Linked DNA regions of Homo sapiens: region 1 is linked to region 2. The links are contacts of gene promoters, found by promoter capture Hi-C in blood cells and fetal thymus (Javierre and others, 2016). All regions are on one chromosome and are shown on one strand. Each heading gives the region's core, a stretch centred on a gene start or on the middle of the fragment in contact. The rest is flanking DNA. Distances are from core to core; before and after follow the strand shown.

What was found. The method cuts DNA at HindIII sites, captures the fragments that hold promoters and counts their contacts. A CHiCAGO score of 5 or more calls a contact.
Region 1: a fragment that was not itself captured here is called in contact with the fragment with the promoter of PLK2 in region 2 in 4 of 17 cell types (total CD8 T cells, naive CD8 T cells, naive B cells and 1 more); the score reaches 8.9 in total CD8 T cells.

What each region holds. Positions count from the first base shown.
Region 1 is chr5:56,268,495-56,273,403 of GRCh38, forward strand. No RefSeq gene overlaps it. Among named protein-coding and RNA genes, the nearest start is that of ANKRD55, 38 kb to the left of the region's middle. The HindIII fragment of the contact is 3,842 bases long and covers 1-3,481 here.
Region 2 is chr5:58,458,836-58,463,373 of GRCh38, forward strand. It overlaps PLK2 (polo like kinase 2), which reads right to left and starts at 1,251. Exons shown (of 14, transcript NM_006622.4): 1 at 855-1,251; 2 at 150-257; 3 at 1-6. The coding sequence starts at 1,124. RefSeq lists a silencer at 1,569-1,748. The HindIII fragment of the contact is 4,873 bases long and covers 1-2,590 here.

The sequences.
Region 1 (4,909 bases), core at 311-2,810, 2.2 Mb before region 2:
CCACTGTGCCTGATTATAATATACATTTTATTAAAACAAAGAGTTCATATCCTTTTTAAAGTTTATTTTTTTTTACTGTAAGTTCTGGGGTACATGTGTAGAATGTGCAGGTTTGTTACATAGGTACACACGTGCCATGGTGGTTTGCTACACCCATCAGCCTGTCATCTACATTAGGTATTTGTCCTAATGCTATCCCTCCCCTAGTCCCCCACCCCCCGCAACAGGCTCCAGTATGTTATGTTCCCCTCCCTGTGTCCATGTGTTCTCATTGTTCAACTCCCACTTATGAGTGAGAACATGAAAGTGTTTGGTTTTCTGTTCCTGTGTTAGTTTCCTGAGAATGATGGTTTCCAGCTTCATCCATGTCCCTGCAAAGGACATGAACTCATCCTTTTTTATGGCTGCATAGTATTCCATGGTGTCTATGTCCATTCTATCCATTCTTTATCCAGTCTATCATTGATGGGCATTTGGGTTGGTTCCAAGACTTTGCTATTGTGAGTAGGGCTGCAATAAACATACGCATGCATGTGTCTTCATAGTAGAATGATTTATAATCCTTTGGGTATATACCCAGTAACGGGATTACTGGGTCAAATGGTATTTCTGGTTCTAGATCCTTGAGGAATCACCACACTGTCTTCCACAGTGGTTGAACTAAATTACACTCCCACCAACAGTGTAAAAGCATTCCTATTTCTCCACATGCTCTCCAGCATCTGTTGCAAAACAAACAGTTTATTTCCTATACAATTTGCTCATTGTCTATAACATTGGGAAATAAAGGAGAAAAGTGTGACAAGTGACTAAATAATTTCAGTGATGACTAGGACATTTGTGAAGTTTATCAGCCAACAAAACATAATAAAATTGAGTTGGTCCCTAGTCTCCCAAATATCCCCTCTCTGCAGCTCTGGAGGGCTGTGACGTCAACGAGGAATAATGGCTCGCGTCCACGGTTCTGGTTGTTTTCTCCTTCAGTTTTCACAATTCTTTTTTTTTTTTTTTTTTTTTAAGTGCTAACCTGCTTTCTTTCTCTCTGCCAGGGGTGGATGTGATTACAAAGCTCTTCTCAGCCTCAGGTAAAGATTATTGTTACCTGTGGTCCTGAGAGACCTGGCTCTATTTCTCAAACCTTTTGTATGTGTGCTGGGAAACCCTAGGGTTAAATGTCACTTCTCTAGAGAGCTGGGGGAACTTTCACCACCACAAAGTGGCCTAATCCCACGCTCTGTCTGAGGGTTTCTCTGGAGTCCCTCTGCTGGCCATGAGAAACAAGAGCAGAAAGCAGTTCTTTAGAATAAGAAACCCAGAATTTTGTATTTGAAAGTGATACATAGAGATGTAGAGAGGCAAGACTTTTCCTGCTCAGCAAAGGGAAGTCACACTCAGGTTATGATCTAAAGCAGTGAGACTAGGTGCAAAATCAAAATTAATTTAATACAGGGTACTGGAAAAAAATAATTCCTTTGAGGAATAACTGGAATGTACAACTAATGTTTGGTTTTTAGAACAAGGCTGGAAGGCATGTTCCTTACCCACAAATACTCCGCCTTTCCCCCAGGTTGCTTTGGTCTGGTCTAATTCATGAGTCAGATTACCAAGGTATCATACAAATAGACAGACGCCATACAGATACCAAACTGAACCGATGGAATCAGACACTTGAGTGTGCGCAATTGATGCAGCACTCTGATTACGGACTGGGCTTTGTGGTCCATTGGCCCTGGGTTTCATTAACTGTCCAGGCTCCCTCCAGAGACTCAGGGCATGTTTTGTTGCTGTGGGTGGTGCTCTTGCTCTATCAAAGGGACCGCAAGAGAGTATGCGCTTCAGATGATGACCAGTATAGGTGCTGAAGGACTTCTTATACAAAAAGAAGCAGCTCCTGGTGTTTGTCACCAAAAGGATGAGAAAAAGAGAAATGAAAATCAACCACATATGCAACAATGTCATATCTTCTCGACTCATTTTCTGATCAAACGAAAATGAAAATAAAATCCATGCACTATACAATGACTTAGAAATATCTACCAGCCCAGAGAAGTAGATAAAGAGTGAAAATATTTCAAAGGAGATGGATGAGAAATAGATGGCACTTGGTGGAAAGTCCTGACAATACAGCAAAGGAGAAACTGGTCACTTGTGTTTAGGAAAGGGCAATGTACTGAGGGGCCTTGGCCATCCCTGAGGTGCAATGCATGACAGCAGCCAGTGGGGGTCAGAGGTGCTCCATGGCTTAGAGCGCCTTTAACCCTCAGCCTGCAAATCCTGCGCACAGGAGACCAGCTGGACCTCCTTTGGAGCTGGTACTTCCCTCCAGGCAGAGCAGAACTGTGAAAACATAGGAGGTGGTTGATCTCATATGCTTTACCACAAGCGCACTTTTGACTTCAAGACAGTTTGCTGATTTTATTTTTTCTTTCACTTATTCTCTTCCCGTTTCTCTTGTTCCCAGCAAAAACCTCTCTGTTGATCATGGATACAGGACAGTCATCTCTCTGAGTTAAGCATGTGAACACCCAAAATCAAGGACTATAGCCTGTTTCCTGAACCCTTATCTCTCTAGGGTACAGAACTTTTTTTAAGTCACTGGCAGTTTGGAGACAATGCTTAAGTGGGTGGGTGGTTCTGGTTGGTTTATAGGTACACACGGGCATCCGGGCTGGAGGTGGCTCACACAAGCTCATGAGAGCCAGTTGTGTAATCTCTTCCCTGCCCCTAGTTAAGTGATGTCATGTTGGTAGCTTGATGTTGGCCATGGTGGGAGTATTTATGCTACAAAAATGGCCATTTACTGCAAATCAGGACTACCCCTCTCCCTGCAGCACCCCAGAAAGCTGGTTGTTAAATACAATGAGTACACCAATGGCCCCAGGGCAGGTTTAAGAGTCAGAGAAGGTATAAATTGCTGGTCAGGCCTGGTGGCTCATGCCTATAATCCCAACAGTTTGGGAGAGTGAGGTGGGAGGATCACTTGAGCCCAGGAGTTTGAGACCAGTCTGGGCAACATAGTGGGACCCCATCTCTACAAAAAAATTGGCTGGGTGTGGTGGCACACACCGGCTACTAGGGAGGCTGAGGCAGGAAGATCACTTGAGCCCTTGAGGTTGCAGTGAGCCATGATTGTGCCACTGCACTCCAGCCTGAGTGACAGAGCAAGACCCTGTCTCAAAAAAAAAAAAAAAAATTACTTAGCCTCATGTATGTTCATGTTCAGGCCACAATGCATCTAGTGAAAAGAAAAAGGAGCAGTGTTTGATTAGCTGAGAGGATCTTCCAGTATGAACCATTCCAGAAACTATAGTCAACAATCCTTTAAAGATGCCTTTCCTATTAAGGGCAAGCAAGAAATTAAATAAAATTTTTGTTTGTAATTTTTAACAGTTGAATTGCAGTACTAAGTGGCTCATGAAGCCATGCAACATCTTTTTCCTTTCAATTTTGAGCCTTAGGAAAAATGTGAGCTTTCTTAGAAAGCTTGTAACATCAGATTTATCGTTTTTATGAAGCAAAAATCCAGAATAAAAACAGTGGCCACCAGGAACCATTGAACAATACATGTTTGCTCATGTCATGTTCATGTACAACTCATGGATTTAAAGGCATAAAGTTAGCTTTTCTCAGAGAAAACACTCTATCACATTCATGGATTAACTTTCACCCTGGCCAGTCTATCAAAATTACTGGAAGACACACACATTCAAGGAGTTTGCTGTATTATAACATTTGCAACACTTTCTGCAAAGGAAATAGGTTTAAGTCATTAGATCACAATATATATTTTTATCATTAATGAAATGTTTTCAGATAGATTATCGGCCCCATGGGGTTTCTGGCCATGCAAGGAAGATGGCTAAATGGGGGTGCTAGCTCTCTGGGCTTGGGAGATGGAGTAAAAGCAGTGGGCAGGAGGGCTGAGGAAATAAGTCATTATAATGAGGCGGTGGGAGCCAGGTTTCTCACTGCAAGAAAAGAGTAATAAACATAGGAAAGAAGAAAGCTAGAATGAACGCTGTGGTCTATGGGATTAGGATGAGAAGTTTTGGTGTAAATTTAGAGTTTGCACTATGTGGGGTTGGATAAAGAAACAAAACGTTGATATACATTTCTGTGAGTCTGTGCATACACTTTATATCTTCATGTGTGCGTATGTATACACATTCACACATGTACACAAATACATACATTTCCTAGCTTTGTACTAGAGAGAGCTTGGGAGTAGTGAAATCCAATAACAAAGATCCTACCTAGAATTTAGTTTCTAAATATTATACTATTTTTCCATGAATATGGACCAGAATTCCTTGGAGAAATGGCCGATCTCACAGGTGGACCAGGAAAAATATGCCAAGTTTAAAATATCTTGTTGTGCCAGAAGGTAAGAAAGTAATCAAATAATGATGGCAACATAGAGGACATGGGACAGCCGGAAGGGGTGCCAGCTGGCCCAATCTGGGATGATTTGTGTGTCCAAGTAACCACAGTATTAGATTATATCCCATTGATTAAAATAGATATCCATGAGTCTGTCCTGATATAACAAGCAAATGAACACATAAATGGAAAGAGAATGCTCTTTCCTAAAGTAGAATGCCAGCTAATGAATGCTGAAAAAATTAAGGACTTAGAGCAATTTGAGAACCATAGTAATTATTTTAGGCAAAATGCATCAATAGATTTGAAAGCTGGAAGGTGAAAGTTGAGTAAAGAATGGGATGTTTACACAGTCTAGGGGTATCTCTCCAGGAAACACTTGTTGACTGCAAAGTAAAAAAAGGTAATTGGTGGTAACTGGGAGATACAGGGTTTCTTTTTGGAGTGATGAAGACATAGTAGAATTAGATCATGGTAATGGTTGCACAACATTATGAATTTACTAATAATCACTGAATTGTACACTTTC
Region 2 (4,538 bases), core at 1-2,500:
GTCAATCTAAATGAAAAAGCAAGGTAAGGCTTATTAGCTTCCAGTCACCTCGGAAAAGCCAGTGATTACACATGCAGAAGACATTTTCCTAACAGGGAAGGGCCATCCTTGCACACAAAGAAAATACTTTACTCAAGAGTCATACGCACCTTTTCCCTTTGATGAGGTTTAGCTACTCTGCTGTGAGGAATAATTTTTGCGGCGTAGACTTTGTTATTTGTCAAATCTGTCATCTCGTAACATTTTGCAAAGCCACCCTGAAAGGAAACAAAGCCGAGACGGAATTGAGGATGGCACAAAAATGGACGGCAGATATTTTAAATAAATAAATAAATGGGAAGAAAGAAAAGCAAAAAAAAAAAAATTGAGGAATGGAGGAGGGTGGACAGAGGGAGGCATTCGACTTCGTTAAAGCTCCCTCATGAAGAGAAATGCATTGCTGGAAACAGCAAGTTCAAACAGTTTCTCTTCTTCTTTTATAAAGGGGAGCTTTATGGAGGGAGTTGGAACGGGGAGACATGAAAAATAATCTCTGATGAGACTTGTCAGGAAAATTCCCTGGGAGCAGATAGAGGGAGAGAGGTCTGATGTAGAAAGCCCTCGCTTCCAGACTCAAGATGCATTTCTCTGGGCTGCGGGAGACACACAGTTCTGAGGCTAAGAATGCAAAGCCGATCCCCAGCGCTGCCGGCGCACAAAAGCCAGAGGGCAGGTGAGGAGCCCACCTCGCGCTGGGATCGGACCCCCGAAAAACCCGGAAGCGGCGGGCGAGGGACCCCGCGGGCTTGCCCGGCTTGGGGTCGCCCGGACAGACCTCCCGCCCGCCCGGCAGCCCGGCGCCCTCCGCTTGTCACCTTTCCCAGCACTTTGCCCCGGCAGTAGCGCTTCCCAGTCGTGGGGTCGACGATAATCCGCGAGATCTCCGGCCCCGAGTGCGAATGGTGGTGATGGTGGTGAGGGGCCGCCGGGGGCACTTGCGCCTGGGACTGAGGTGGCTGCGATTCCTCGGGGGGCTGCGGCGGCCGCTTCTTCTTCGAGTCCGCTCCGCAACCCTTGCCCAGCGCCTGCTCGCACATTTTGGTGCTGGCGGCTGGCTGGTAGGTGATAGTCCGCAAAAGCTCCATGGTCGCCTTGCCGCCCCGCACTGCCCGCTGCCACCCCCTAGGCGCGGTCACACGTCCGAGCCGGCCGTGGTCCTCGCACCCTTGCCTCTGGTGCCGACTAGCACCCAACACCCCGGTCCACTTGTGCGAGTGAGAGCGCTCGGCGAAGTCTTATATACGGGGAGGCGGGAAGGGGGCGGAGACTCGATACGCGACATCACGTCACGGCCTATGCCCCGCCCCACGGCCGGCCGAGCGCGCGTGGCCGGGAAGCAAGTCTTGTCCCGCCACCCGGGTCTCGCTTCCCAGCGGAGCCGCGCGCCTCAAACGCCGGCCGCCGAGATCTCTTGCGGCCGCGGGAAGGCCTTCAGAGCCGTCCGTGGGCCCCGCTGTCCCGTTCTTCGAAGGCTCCGAGCCTCAGCGTACAAAACAGAATCGCGAGGGCCGACGCCTGGCCTCACCCCCGCCCCAGCCGCCTGGTGGCAGGGCAGTGCCGTGACCCGAGCGAGTCGGGCGCGGGTGTAGACGCAGTCCCTCCCCCGCACAGCCCTTCCCGGCCGCCCGGGGCCTCCTGTGTCAAGGTATCAGGGTGCCCGGAGCCCGCCGCACGGGCAGGCGAGGCCTCCTCCGGCCGTATGACAGGGCTCGTCTGCAGCTGCCCCGCAGTGCCTGCCCGCGCTGTGACGAGCTCGCTGGTGTCTAGCTGGGGCAGTGCCGAGAGGCCGTGGGGGTGAAAGGCCGGGATTCGTGGAGCCGGGCATTCGAGCCCATCGCGCTAGGGCAGACACGGGCCCGCAGCCGGGATCCCGGGCCGATCGGCCAACCGTGCCAGGATCCCACTCGAGGCCCGTCTGGCCCCCGCCCATGCCCCTAGAGCGAGCCTCTGTCTGAGGTCGGCCCCTGAACCTTGCAGAGCGAGGTCGGCGTCCTGGCAAGGCGTCCTCCGCCCGTAGCCCGAAGATTGGAAAGCAAGGGCGCCATCTTGTGGAATGTTCCGGAATGCCGTTAGGTGTCGAAGTGGGCAGCGGTTGACAACCGTGGGCCTTTGACAGTTACTAGTACTAAACATCGATGCCGATTGTGAGTTTCCAATCAGAGTCATCTATGACTTCTTCCGAATGCATCTGTTGAGATGGCTCATGAGCTGCCCTGGTTCCTGGAGAGTCAATCTGAGACTTTCTGGGGTAGGGAGATTGGTAGGATGAAGAGAGGAGCGTAGGCCAGTGAGTGCAAACACAGCTTAGTTTCCCATTTCCAGATTTTGCTGTGCAGTTTGACTAATCTAGGAACACGTTTTTTTGTTTGTTTTTCTTGTTCTAATTACGATAGAGTAACATTTATTGAGGACTGTGCAGTATTTTTAAATGCCTTATTTCATCCTACAACAATTCTGAGAGAAATATTGTAAGGAAGGAAAAATAATTTTCCACCTTTCAAAGTTTTGGCCTGGGTCGCTGTAACCAGACAGATTAACAAGAAAACAAAGAAGCTTATTAACATATACGTCTCATATATACATGGGAGATAACCAGGAAAATTAGAGATGGTTTAAAATCGGGCTTAAATACTATCTTTAGCTAAACCAAAAGAAAAGAGTGGGGCAGGCAAGTTAAGGAATCATGACCAGGAAATGTACGGTAAACAGGAGTGGGGTTTCTTATTTCTTCATTGATAAGTTTTTCATGATTTAGAGTCATTCTTCCTGGTACAGAGGAGACACTTTTACAAATGGAGTTTTGTGGGGTTTTTTTGTTTTTTGTTTTTGTTGTTTTTTTTTTTAGTGAATGTACGTTTCCCTTACGAAAGGGTAATATGCCATTTTTAGAGCATTTCCTGGGTCTGCTGGTTCTCAAAATAATTATCTTAAAATAATCTTTATCCCAGGGCCATATTTGGGGTGGCATATTCTCATCTCCTACATTATTATTCCCATTTTATAGATGAGGCTTGGAGAACTTAGGTAATTATTGTATATTTTTACTAGATCATCGAGGTTAGGTTAATTAGCAGCACACTTGAATCTTTTTACCTATGTTAACAGGATATGGTAAATAGTTTTTTGAAGCTAAATTCCAGAGAAATTTAGAATACCAGATTATTGAATCCCTGGAAGGTACATACAAAAAGTTGCTGCAGTCCACTGTCAAATTTAGGTATGTGTGGTATCAACATTAATCGAACATTTACAAAAATACTGTGTCTCAAATACTTCCAGCATAATGTGGAAAAGAGGCTTATTGCCATTAGAGAGGAGAAAGGGAAAGGCTTTGCCATTAGCGAGGAGAAAGGGAAAGTCTTTGCTGTCACTTCCGTTTTTGATTCTTTAAAGAGTGCAGGGCAAGTCCAGGCATGTTTCTCATAAGTGACAATAGACTTTAACCCCAAGATTGTCAGGGATGGAATAAGGGGTGGGGCTTAGGGGTGGAAATTCAGAATTACGTAATTATCCTCTTTATTCATAAGCCCAGGGGTGACCTTTGCTTCCCAGATTTGTGCAAACCTACTCTCTAAGATGTAGAAGGCTTGCAGGTTTAGAAAATATTACTAGAATTTATCAAAGCTAGTTTACACACCATGTCTTTATGGTTGATAATAAACTGTATATGTATACATATGTGTGTATGTGTATGTGTATTCATTTGTGGCCTAAGATAAAAAACTGAAGAATAGATTGTCATGATTTTTTTTTAAATGTCAATTTCTTCTTTGATTAGCATACACTATGGTATGTATCTTTACCAAATGGACTTCAGTATTTGATAAACTGTTGAACATTCCATGTGAAATTCAGGTCTGTCTGCCACAACATGGAGGCATTTAATAAAATATTAACGCTGTGTAAATCTTATGTTGTCTTCTTTCCGACTGAGAACATGATTTTTTTGGGGTTGTGGTGCCATCATGTGGACAGAACCAAAATTGTAGTCTATAGAACAAAAAAGGAAATAAATGCGCTTTCTATTAAGTAGACTAATTACTAAATATCATGGAGTCAATTTGGTAACCAGTAGGAAGGAAAAAATGGATCCATGCTTCATATCTGGCTTATTTTCAAGCAAATGAAAGTTTGAAATACGTGAAATTTTAAGACAATATGAAAGAATTCTTTCATAGCCTGAATGTGGTAGAACTTTCAACTATTTACAAAATCTAGAATCCCTAAAAAAAAAAAAAAAGCAAGATTCATTAATGTAACTATATAGAAACAAAACCCTTTCATTGATTTAAAATAACAAAACACCACAAATAAAGTCAAAGGATAAATAACACTGGAAAAATTATTTTCAACTCATCACAGAGAAAGAGCTTATCTTCCTGTTATATAAAAACTCCTACAATTGGATAAAATACCAATTATCCAACAGAAAACAAATGGTTCTTACATTTGCTCAATTTCACTCTTCAGAAGAGAAATTGAAATGAAAGATATACTGA